Regions from separate parts of the Homo sapiens genome. Here all the other regions are linked to region 4. The links are contacts of gene promoters, found by promoter capture Hi-C in blood cells and fetal thymus (Javierre and others, 2016). All regions are on one chromosome and are shown on one strand. Each heading gives the region's core, a stretch centred on a gene start or on the middle of the fragment in contact. The rest is flanking DNA. Distances are from core to core; before and after follow the strand shown.

Region 1 (2,912 bases), core at 26-2,525, 300 kb before region 4:
GGTTTTTTTTTTTTTTTTTTTTTGAGATGGAGTCTCACTCTGTCACCCAGGCTGGAGCGCAATGGTGCGATCTCGGCTCACTGTAACCTCCACCTCCTGGGTTCAAGTGATTCTCCTGCCTTAGCCTCCCAAGTAGCTGGGATTACAGGCGCGTGTTACCACAGCTGGCTATTTTTTTTTTTTTTGTATTTTTAGTAGAGATGGGGTTTCACCATGTTGGCCAGGCTAGTTTCGAACTCCTGACCTCAGGTGACCTGCCTGTCTTGGCATCCCAAAGTGCTGGGATTACAGGCATGAGCCATGGCGCCCGGCCTCATCACCCTGTTTTGTTTTCTTCATAACACTAATCACTGTCTGAATCTCTCAGATAGATTATTGGTTCATGGGTTTATCATCTGTTCCCATGTGAGCTAGGAAGGGTGGAGATTTTCTTGGCCACCCCCATGAATGTGTCCCCAGGCCCTGGAACAGTCTCTGACACTGTAGGTATCTGGCAAGCATTTATCAAATGCATGAATGGATGGGCGAATGAATGAGCTTATTCTGTGTTGTCAGTTCCTGAGGTGCACACATGTTTTGGTTTGTTATTGTCCATTATTGCTCGCTTAGCAGAGTGTCTCAGCATGTCCCAAGGTGGACGTGTGGGACCAGATGTCCTGAGCATCATAGGATGCGAGGAGCATCCCTGGCCTCTTCCCACTGGAGCTGCCGGTAATACCACTCCCCACACGCACTAAGAACAACCAAAACTGTCTCCAAACACTGCCAAATGTCAGGTGGGGGAGAGAATCGCCCCAGCTGAGAACTCTGGCCCTGCAGTATTTAATCCAGCACTTGGGCGCTAGGAGGGCTGAAAACGTGTCTCTTGACGAATTTGGGGATCAAATCCTGCCTCTGGAGCAGTTCCACAATACGACCAGCAGGTGGAAGCAGAGACCGCCCTTTCGGTAGCATGGTTGCCCTCACTTTGCAAAAACTTTGTTTTCCCCAGCATTGTAACTGATTTTCCAACAGCGCTCATTTAGCCCCATGTGGCCATGTGAGTAACCCACTCCTTTTGCGCCTTTCCGGATTAGACAGGGACGTCGCAGCAACGTCCTGAAAGGAGCAGACAGCCAGTAAAGAAGTGCAGGCGTTGGTGGAAGTAGGGGGAGGACCATCTTGGGATCAGGCAGTTCTGAAGTTTACTCCCAGTTGCGTCCCTTTCTCTCCTTATGCCCTTAGTCCAGTTATGTTAACCTGCCAGTGCCTCAGTTTCCTCATCTGTACCCTGCTTTGCTTATCTCCTAGTCCTCACCACGGGCTACGTATTTCATATGCCTCTCTCTCCTCAATCATGTGGCACCCCAGAGAGCAAGGTCTGGGTCTGGAGGAGTCATTGCCCCCCCAGTTGCTGGTGTGTACTGGCCTTCCTTTGAGTGTTTGTTGAATGACTGACTGACCGACTGGCGTGGAGAATAGCACAGGTGCATAGATGTGGATGTCAGCTATAATGATGACAATGCTGATGTCATGGTGGTGTCATGTCGTTGTGGTGGTGATGTCATGGCATGGTGGTGATGATGTCATGATGTTTGTTGAATGACTGACTGACCGACTGGCATGGAGAATAGCACAGGTGCATAGAAAGTACTCAGTGGGTGTCAGCTATGATGATGACAGTGTTGACGTCATGGTGATGATGATGTCATGATGAAGACGATGATGCCATATTGTTGATAATCGTGTTGTCATCTTTTAATCCACACCAGTATTCCCCAAACCATCAGCACCTCCCAGAGTTTCCTAAGCCAAAGGCTCCTCGGGCCCTCCCCTACATCTCATGACTTGGAATCTTGCAGGAACAGAATCTCAGCCATGGTTTTGGGTTAGAATAGGCTGGAGAGCTCTTAAAAAACACTGATGCCTGGACACCAGCCCTAGAGAATATCAGATCAAGGATGTAGACAGCAGCAGGATTTTTGGAAGATACCCAGGTGATTCTAAGAGCAGCAAGATGACAACCCTTCTCTGTCACTTAATAAACGCCCCACCTCGGCATTTATGCAAACAGTGGCTCTGGGCCAGAAGCCTCGGCATCGCCTGGAAGCCACTTAGAAATGTGAGTTTTTGGGCTTCACCCAGGCCTCCTGGCTCAGACACCCTGGGGGTGGCATCAGCCCGAGAGTATCAACAAGCCCATAGAGTCTGGGGCGCGCTAAATGTGAACAGCACTGCCCCAGGGGACCCGGATGGGGAGCCCATTCCCAGGGGCAGAACACCAGGATGAAAGGAGGGATGGATTTTTCTGGGGGAGGACGGAAAAGGTATGATTAGTCTTGAAGAGTGCTCTATCAATTGGCCAACCCCTTGGGAGTCTCGCAGCTTCATATTGTAGACCTAACCTGACCCCGTAGAAAGCCCATGTCATGCCAGAGTTATTTTAGAGCAAAAGGAACTCCAGGCCAGAGCTCCCCAGAGAGAGCTGAACGCATTACAGGGCCCAGGAGGTAGGGCACCCTCTCCCTTTCCCAGACCCACCAAGGAGCTGATCCAAGGGACATGGGTGAGGAGGAAATGAAGTCGGAGGGGGCGTGAGGACTTTGCAATCTGTAAAGCTCTGTGTGTGATTAAAGGATCGTTTTTATTTCTCGCGAAGCGGTTTGGCACTCCCTCGGGCTCCTCCAGGCCACACGGACACACACGGACATAAGCACACAGGTACTAGGATAACAGCCAGGCCCCAAGCTTAGTCCGCGGGGATTTGTGGGGGAAGGAGGGGGGTGCCTGGCCTCCCCGAGTGGCCTTTGAGGAAGAAGAGGCCGCAGCCGATGGAGATCGGTCGGTGAAGCTCCGGGGCCAAGCCCCTCCCTCCCCTCCACGACCCAGCGCCCAGGCTCATATGGCCTGGTCCTGCCTCCGTCTCAGGCTGA
Region 2 (2,930 bases), core at 199-2,698, 330 kb before region 4:
CACAATCTGGGCATTGCCATGGAACATGTGACCCATATGAATAACGTCTGCCTGGTGTGCGGTGCTGAATAAACGTTTGAGGATCCCTGGGCCAACTGCCCTCAGGGTGCTTCCAGCTGATATAATCTTGAATTCCAGGATGTGATCTGGAAGACACAAGATTCGGGAGTCCTTTTCCTCTGAGAAGGGAATAGAGGGGTGGGAGGTAGAGAAGCTAGAAGCAGAATCCCAACCCAAGACCCACTTACCCAGAATACTTGCCCCTGGCCCGAGTGACTGCTCCAGCTCCGCAAAGCCTCCTTCTCTCTCTGACCCTCATCAGACCCAGAGGAGGGCTCTGCCTCCTGCAAGCAGCCTCACATGCCTGGACAGATCTTCCCTGCAGGCTCACACCACCCTCTCCTTCCATCCTCCCACGCTCCAATTCCCTTATCCAAGGAAAATGACCCCTGAAGCTTCACTCTTCCAGATCCCATCCTGGGATTCGGGGTTGTATCAGCTGGAAGCACTCTGCGTGCAACTGGCCCAGGGATCCTTAAATATTTATTCACCACCACAAGCAAGACAGATGTTGTTCATATAGATCTCATGTCCCATAGCAATATCCAGATTGTAACAGAAAACCTAAACTAAAAAAGAAAAAAAAAATGGAAGTAACTTTAAAAAATTACAACTCACAAATATGCTATTTTTTTAATTATTTTATTTTTTTACACAGAGTCTCGCTCTGCCACCCAGGCTGGAATGCAGTGAAACAATCTCTCCTCACTGCAGCCTCCACCTCCCAGATTCAAGCGATTCTCCTGCCTCAGCCTCTGGAATAGCTGGGATTACAGGCACATGCCACCATGCCTGGCTGATTTTTGTATTTTTAGTAGAGATGGGGTTTCACCACGTTGACCAGGCTGGTCTTGAACTCTCGACCTCAGCCTAAGGTGATCCACCCGCCTCAGCCTCCCAAAGTGCTGGGATTACAGGCTTGAACTGCTGTGCCGGGCCACAAATATGGTATTTAATAATAAGAATGTATTTATTCATTCAAACATCAGGTTATTGAGTGCATATTTATCAAATTGCTATAAATATATATATAGCACTTGGCTAGAGATTAAGGATACAGTGATGAACTACTTTTCCATAAAATAGTTTATAGGAGGAATAGAACAGTCTCAGATAGAGGTAGGAGCTCTGGAGTCCAGCCACCTGAGCAGGAATCCCAGCTGATCGCTCGCCTGCTGGGTATCATTATATCAACCTCAGTTTCCTCAACTGTGAAATAAGAGTGATGATGATTGCATTGAATTCATCAGATTGTCATAAGTGTTCAATGAAATAATGCAAGTAAAATAGCTGGTATATAGCAAGCACTCCAAAAATCTCAGCTATTATTACTGTTATAATAGCACCCATTTTATCCAAGGTTGGATAGTCAATGAAAGATACAGAAAAAGACAGGGAGACTTGGGAGTTGATAAGAACAGGTGAAGTAGAATTCAATTCATTCACTGAACCAATTTTTATTGACCACTCACTATAGCTCAGCATTCCACTAGGTACTGGGAACCAGTGGTAAGCAAAGACAGACATAGTTCCTATCTTCTTGGAGCTTACAGACTGGTGGGAGAGATGGACATAAACCAAAGAATCACACGAATAACTGCTAAATTTTGACAATGACAATTGTTACAGAAGAGAGATGTAGGATGTTTCAAGAGCTGACAACAGGAGGACTTGATCTAATGAGAGGTATCAGGGCAGGCTTCCCTGGAGAGTAAAGTTTGAGCTGAGATGGAACTCAGGTTAAAAGACTAAGCAGCAGGTGCAAAGTCCCTGTGGCAAAGACATACGCATGGAACTGAAAGAAGTCCAGAGTTGCCAGAGAGAGACTACAACGGGGAGTGTAGAGTGAGGTGAGGCTGAGAGCGAAGTCTGGACCAGCCCCATGCAGGGTCTAATGATAATAATGACCACAAATAGAGTGGCAGCAATCATATATTGAACTCTTGCTATATGCCAGGCATATTATATCATATCGTCTAAACTCATGACAATACCATGAAGTTGGTGCTATTATTTTCTGCGTTTTACTAATGGGGAAACAGGCTTGAGGTCATGTGGCTACCAAGGACGTGAACCACTTATGTCTTACTCAAGAGCCCTCACAGTCCTGGACTCAGAGCATCATACAATTTGTCATACAAATGAGGACAGTCCAGGGTTACATTATTAATAATACTAAGACCACAGACATAAACCAGGACCTCCCCAAGCACTACTGGATAATATCTCAGGATAAAAAAAAATGAAAGCACTTTGTAAACAGTGATATCTACTAAGAGATCAGAGACAATTCGTCTGACCATAAGGTTCAGGAAGGGGAAAGATCTCAGTGTAACCAGGAGATCATTTTCTTGAACCAATGCCTCATTCTGCTACAACATGAAGCTTCATTCCAGTCCCACATCTTCAATATATTTGACATTTTGAAAAATAATTAATTGTGTCAGTTTTATTAATGTTTTAAAATACAAATTAAAAATGTGACAAATGAGTGAGAAACAGCAGTCTGTTTTAATGAAAATTTCATATTCTCCATCAATAAATCATAAACTAAAGAGAACCCAACATAAGCCACTATATTCCTTGCCTGTCTGTGTATGGGGTTACTTGGCAGAGGGTTCCACTTGGGAACTGGGAAGATTCTAGAATTCTGCAGGGCCCAAGAGTTCAGGCTGGTGAGGATCAAAGGGGTCTGGCTTACAAAGACGTAGCACAGGCTCCAATTCCCCTGTTCTTTCCAAGAACAAAGGGCTTAGAGAGATGTAGCACAGTGGCCCCATATGAACTTTACCTCTAAGGGATCCACCACCCTGCGAGGCAGCTTTCACCAGGACAGCATGGTGACCAAGAAAAAGCACGCCAACATTAGG
Region 3 (2,971 bases), core at 451-2,950, 270 kb before region 4:
ACTCCTGTACCAGGGCATCCTAGGATAACCCTCCAAATAAAATTACTTGCCCTCGGCCAGGCATGGTAGCTCATGCCTGTAATTCCACCACTTTGGGAGGCCAAGGCAGGTGGATCACTTGAGGCCAGGAGTTCGAGAATGGCCTAGCCAACATGACAAAACCCCATCTCTACAAAAAATTAGCTGGGTGTGGTGGCACATGCCTGTAGTCTCAGCTACTCCGGAGGGAGGCTAAGGCAGAAGAATCGCTTGAATCTGGGAGGTGGAGATTGCAGTGAGCCAAGACCAAGCCACTGCACCATAGCCTGGGTGACACAGCGAGACTCCATCTCAAAAAAAAAAAAAAAAAAAAAAATTACTTGCCCTTAAATCCTTATCTCAGGGTCTACTTCCAAAAAACCCAACCTAAGACCTGTTATCTAGCACTCTTACACCTTCAAAGAGACCTTCCTAATAGTAATTAAGGAATACTTAACAATGAAGTTATTTGCTAGCTACGTGTCTGCTCCTTTGGACTATAAACCTCATTCAGGCAATATGCTAGATACTATAGGATGGCTCACTCAACACCATTCAGATTCACTTCCCTTTCACATTTCTAGATCCGTTCCAGCCAGTAGTGGCCATGTGACATAATTCAGACCAATCAGATAGACACAGAGTCTATTGGGAATGGCTCCCCCAAGCAAAACGACAAGGCCTTGGGAGAAGGCTTTTTGTCCATCTGGAATGTAAATGTGATGTCTAGAAGTGCAGCAGCTATTTTGCAAACACGAGGATAAACCATCCGTGATGGCAAAAACAGAAAGCGGCAGAGACTTGAGCACCCAATAGTATCATTGAACTTTGCAACTCTCCATTGACTGAACATATGAACACCCAATAGTATCATTGCCCCATCTTTGATTTGCCTACCTCCAGAATTCTTGTTACAAGATAAAAATGAACCCTTATCTATTAAGCCATTAACTTAGAGTTGTCTGCTATTTGCAACGGAATGCATTGTGAATTGATGCAGACAGGGATTGCATTGGTGCTATCCAATGGGCATCATTGGCTTCGGGGTTAGTATGTGACACACAGTATGTGTGTAATAGAAATTTGTTGATTTAATAAACGAATCCTGCAAAAAGTCTCTTCTTGCAAGCACAGAGCTTATTTTGTGGGGCTGTAAGGAACTGTAAGGAACCAGCTGAAGGCTTTAGAAATATAGCTGGGATGTGGTACAGTTATTAAGATTGCTGCACTAGAGAGAAATGCCTCCTCTCTGTATTAAGTTTCATGAAGTCATGATGTTCTGCTGGTGAACTGGACTCCCTGGACCTGACCTGTGCATAACCATTTAAGTGTAAAGCCTTTATCCGTCCATTAAGGACATCTAGAAGAGCTAGCTGCCACTCTCCATACCCTAGGTGATGTAATTAGCTTAAAATGAAAAGAGATCAGTAACCCACTGGTCTAATTTTGCCATTACCCACCTGGCATAACACCAAGAGATTAAAGCCTGGGTCTGAGCTCTCTTTCTTTGGGGAAACTTCTTCCCAAATTGGAATAAAAATCCTCAACCAGAGAGAAGCTTCTTTCAGGTATCACACAGCCGAAGGGAAAGAATTTAGACCAGGAACCAGGACAGCTGGGTTCCAGCACCAGCTCTGCCACTAGCCTGCTGAAAGGTCCTGATCTGGTTACTTCTCCTTTCTGGGCCTCAGTTTCCTCATCTGTAAGAGGGGCTAGTAAAAGCCCTTCTCTAGGAATCTATTCCAGTGATAGCTGATATGTGCTGGATTGTGACAATGGGGCAGGCACATCAGGCACATTCCTGTTTGAAGCTTCACATCAATTTTGGGAGAAAAGTATGCCTAATGCAACCATGTTACAGATAGAAACACCAAGGCTCAGAGAGGTTGAGTAAGTGAATCAATATCACACAGCTATTAAGTACAGGATCCAGGATTCAAACACAAGCTTGTCTAACTTCAAAGCCATGCTTTGAATGTGGGATTGGTTTCATGCATTTCGGTAAAAGAGCATAAAGCAAGACTAACATGTAAGAGATACTCAGTCCATATTTATTTATTTATTTAGAGACAGAGTCTCGCTCTGTCGCCCAAGCTGGAGTGCAATGATGTGATCTCGGCTCACTGCAAACTCTGCCTCCCCGGTTCAAGTGATTCTCCTGCCTCAGCCTCCCAAGTAGCTGAGATTACAGGCACCCAACACCACATCCAGCTAATTTTTGTATTTTTGGTAGAGACAGGGTTTCACCATGTTGGCCAGGTTGGTCTCCAATTCCTGGCCTCAAGGGGTCCACCCGCCTCGACCTCCCAAAGTGCTGGGATTACAGGCATGAGCCACGGGGCCTGGCCTCAGTCAATATTAACTCATATGGCCTGACAATAGCTTAATGTGAGAGATATAGTGGAAAGAATTGAAGTATCAAAGAAACCTCACTTCAAATGCCACCTCCACCCCTTATTTGCCAAGGGACACTGATCAACAGTTTTAGTTCTCTGAACTTCATTTTCCTCTTCAGAAGAATGAAAGTAACGATACCAAACTCACAGAGTTATCGTCGAAATTAAATTAGACAATATATGACAGGCTGGGCATAGTGGCTCACACCTATAATCCTAGGATCTTGGAAGGCCATGGCATGGAGGATGGCTAGAGCCCAGGAGTTTGAGACCAGCCAGGGCAACATAGTAAGACCCCCTCTCTACAAGTAAAAAATTTAAAAATTAGCTGGACGTGGTGGTGAGCACCTGTGGTCCCAGCTACTTAAGAGGCTGAGGTGGGAGGATCACTTGAGCCTAGGAGGTCAAGGCTACAGTGAAAGAAGAGAAGACATAAAGACAATCCTGACTGTGAGATTATAAGGACATGACTTGGAATCACTCATGCCAAGTCCTGAGCAGAGTCTCAGGCAGCCCATAAAAACAGCTAGTAAACATTAGCTCCAGCTATTAGCTCA
Region 4 (2,921 bases), core at 202-2,701:
CCGATCCCCTACCTAGGGGACCCACCGTCAACCACCCTCAACCCCACCCCATGGCCCCACGCCAGGCCTAGCTCAGCTCATTGAAAACATCTACTCCCAGCCGGGCTCTGCGCCTCTTTCTTGCCCTGAAGGGACCAGCATCGAGAACTCACGGTCATCACCGAGGCCACCCAGGGAGTGCAGAGGGCGGTGGGGTCTCCAAGGAGGACCCCGAGCCCAGAGGAGGGCCAAAGGCCCGAAGGGAGGGAGAACAGAGGCAGAGAGAGGCTGGAGAAGGTAGTGGCGGAAGATAACAGGAAGCCCTGCTGAGAAGTTGGGGACTTAGACGACAATGGGACTTCGGTGGACGATTTTCAGCGTGGGGTAGATCTAAGCGGATTGTTTTTCTAAGTTCCCTCTGGCTTCAGAGTGGCAGCAAATGACAGGGGCAAGCAAGACTGGGCACAGAGAGACTGAGAAATATCAAAACAGCAAGTTAAAAAACAGTAGCTTACGTGTCTCCCGGCACGGGGCTAGCTGCCTCCTTTTACTCTCACACACCCTCTCATGCCAGAAGAAGTCAGAGCCCAGTCTGCAGATGGGGAAACTGAGGCTCCGAGAGGCCTCCTATTTGGCAGAGATTTCCCCACCTATTAAGACCCAAGGCCCTGCCTGGAGCGGGACGTCTCCGCCTCCCCCAGCACACACATCCACTCCAACCCCAGAAAACCATAGGGCCGGAGGCTTCCTTTTTAAAAATCAAAAAAGAACATTTCACTTCCGGCCTGCAAACCTGAACCGCCAGCGCAGCCTGCGGAAAGGGGGCCTGTGGGCGCGGGTGAAGTTTTTCTCCAGCGCCTAAGGCACCCCCACCCCCATCCGGGCGCAAACACCCGGGCCCAGCGCGCCCGGCGGCTCCTCCTCCCCCAGATGCGGCTAATCGCGCGGCGCCAGGACGGCTCCCCACCTCCCCCGCCGGGCCTGGCCGCCGTCCCAACCTCGAGCCACAGCTGGCGCGGCCAGGCCCGGCGGGGGGTGGCTCTGCTTCCCGCGTGCGACGCCCCCCGCGCCTCGCCCCACCGCCCGGCGAGTCCCCCGTCCAGGGCTCCCGCCCAAAGGCAAAAGCAGCGGGGAGGGCGGGAAGAGCTTCCCCTGCACGCAGAGAACAGGTGGCCAGGCGGGAAGTACTACCCGACGTCCGCCTAGAATCCTTGCCGCTGTTGCCACACCCACCCCTTCCCCTGGGGAGGAGCAACCCGCGTTCCCCAAACAGGCCCCGAGAAACCCAGCCCGGAGCCCTCCTCTGCCGAGCTAGAAGACCCTGCAGGATGGGGGACGATGGAGGCAGAGGAGGCCGAGGCCCCACCCCTGCGGCTCCCGGGGCCGCGGGCCAGGGGCGCCTATCCTGGGGTCCCCGAGAAGAGCTCCCTACCCTGCAATCCGTTCTGCTCCGCCAGCCGCTTCGCTCCGACTGAGAGCGCGGAGCTGGGGAGGGGGCGTGGCCCGAGGGGGGGTGGGGCGCCGATCCCCGCCCCCAGGAGCTCCCGGCCAATGGGGCTGCGGGAGGGAGCCCGGGACGGTGGGGGCGGGCGGGGCGGGAGTGGCCCGGACAGGACCTTTGTGTCCGCGCCTTAGACTGGCGGGAGAGCGGAACGCAGAGCGCGGGACGTAGGGGCCGGGGCGGGGCGGGGCGGGGCGGAGCTGGGCTGCACCCACCAGCAGAAAACGCCCCTGCAAAGTGGGGGAACTGTGTCCCTGCGCCCGTGCAGTTCCTTCCCCTCGCCACGCGCGCCAGGTGCGGCTCCCACCTGCCTTTGGCTCTAAAATCTGTATAATCCCGGAGGGTGTCACTTTTAGCAGAAAGGAAATAAAGGAATGAAAAGAGAGACGGAAGAAAACAAGCAAAAAACAGAAAGGAGGAAAAGGGAAAGAAAAAATACACACGCACACACACACCAGAAAAACAGGGTTTTGTTTTCTCGTTGGGGATTTTGATTTTGTTCTCTTCTCTTGTTTCATTTCTAGCCTTCCTTGAGTCCTCTGTTTTTGGAGGTAAAAAATGTTACCTCTGTTTTGCAGGAGAGGAAACTGAGGCACAGAGAGGCGACCAGCCCATGGGCACGGCCAGTCGAGAGCAGCCCCTGAAGGCGAGCCTAGATCCCGGGACCAGGGTCAGCTTGGTATTTGAGGGGCGCGGGGAAGGAGAGAGGTCCCCGGAGCTCGCCCGGGACAACAGGGCCCCCGGAGGCGGCGGTGAGGACTGTGCCTGCCTCACTCTGCAGCCCCTATTGGGGCCACTGGGGAAAAGGCCCAGCAGCGAAACCAACTAGTCCAAGCCAGGCAAGGAACCGTCCTAGACGGCTGGTGGGAACAACCGCGCAGCTGCTGTGGAAAAAGCCCGGCGGTTCCTCAAACCACGAGCCCTGGAGTCTCCATAAAACCCATCAACTCCACTCCTAGGTGTCTGCGCGCCCAAGAGAAATAAAAATGTTTGTCCACACAAAAATTTACTTGAGGCCGGGTGCGGTGGCTCACGCCTGTAATTCCAGCTCTTTGGGAGGCCGAGGCAGGAGGATCACTTGAGCTCAGGAGTTGGAGACCAGCCTGGCCAACATGGCGAAACCCCGTGTCTATGAAAAATACAAAAATTTGCCGGGCTTGGTGGCGGGTGCCTGTAATCCCAGTTACTTGGGAGACTGAGGCAGGAGAATCACTTGAACCCGGGAGGTGGAGGTTGCAGTGAGCCAGGATCATGCCACTGCACTCCAGCCTGGGCGACAGCGAGTCTCCGTCTCGGGGGGGAAAAAAAGTTAAAAATAAATAAATAGGCCGGGCGCGGTGGCTCACGCCTGTAATCCCAGCACTTTGGGAGGCCGAGGCGGGCGGATCACGAGGTCAGGAGAACGAGACCACGGGGAAACCCCGTCTCTATTAAAAATATT

The links. The method cuts DNA at HindIII sites, captures the fragments that hold promoters and counts their contacts. A CHiCAGO score of 5 or more calls a contact.
Region 1: a contact is called between a fragment that was not itself captured here and the fragment with the promoter of CARHSP1 in region 4, in 17 of 17 cell types (non-activated CD4 T cells, total CD4 T cells, monocytes and 14 more). The highest score is 45.5, in non-activated CD4 T cells.
Region 2: a contact is called between a fragment that was not itself captured here and the fragment with the promoter of CARHSP1 in region 4, in 5 of 17 cell types (monocytes, M0 macrophages, erythroblasts and 2 more). The highest score is 7.1, in monocytes.
Region 3: a fragment that was not itself captured here is called in contact with the fragment with the promoter of CARHSP1 in region 4 in 13 of 17 cell types (naive CD8 T cells, neutrophils, total CD4 T cells and 10 more); the score reaches 19.3 in naive CD8 T cells.

The regions. Positions count from the first base shown.
Region 1 is chr16:8,566,896-8,569,807 of GRCh38, forward strand. It overlaps TMEM114 (transmembrane protein 114), which reads right to left. Exons shown (of 4, transcript NM_001146336.2): 4 at 2,605-2,912. The coding sequence ends at 2,878. Among named protein-coding and RNA genes, the nearest start is that of TMEM114, 22 kb to the right of the region's middle. The HindIII fragment of the contact is 2,900 bases long and covers 1-2,725 here.
Region 2 is chr16:8,539,125-8,542,054 of GRCh38, forward strand. It overlaps a transcript of TMEM114 not described here. Among named protein-coding and RNA genes, the nearest start is that of TMEM114, 50 kb to the right of the region's middle. The HindIII fragment of the contact is 1,990 bases long and covers 454-2,443 here.
Region 3 is chr16:8,597,373-8,600,343 of GRCh38, forward strand. No RefSeq gene overlaps it. Among named protein-coding and RNA genes, the nearest start is that of TMEM114, 8.3 kb to the left of the region's middle. The HindIII fragment of the contact is 253 bases long and covers 1,575-1,827 here.
Region 4 is chr16:8,867,555-8,870,475 of GRCh38, forward strand. CARHSP1 (calcium regulated heat stable protein 1) reads right to left here and starts at 1,452. Exons shown (of 4, transcript NM_014316.4): 1 at 1,412-1,452. CARHSP1-DT (CARHSP1 divergent transcript) reads left to right here and starts at 1,727. Exons shown (of 2, transcript NR_186721.1): 1 at 1,727-1,774; 2 at 2,059-2,485. RefSeq lists an enhancer at 615-674 and a silencer at 815-1,774. The HindIII fragment of the contact is 19,717 bases long and covers 1-2,921 here.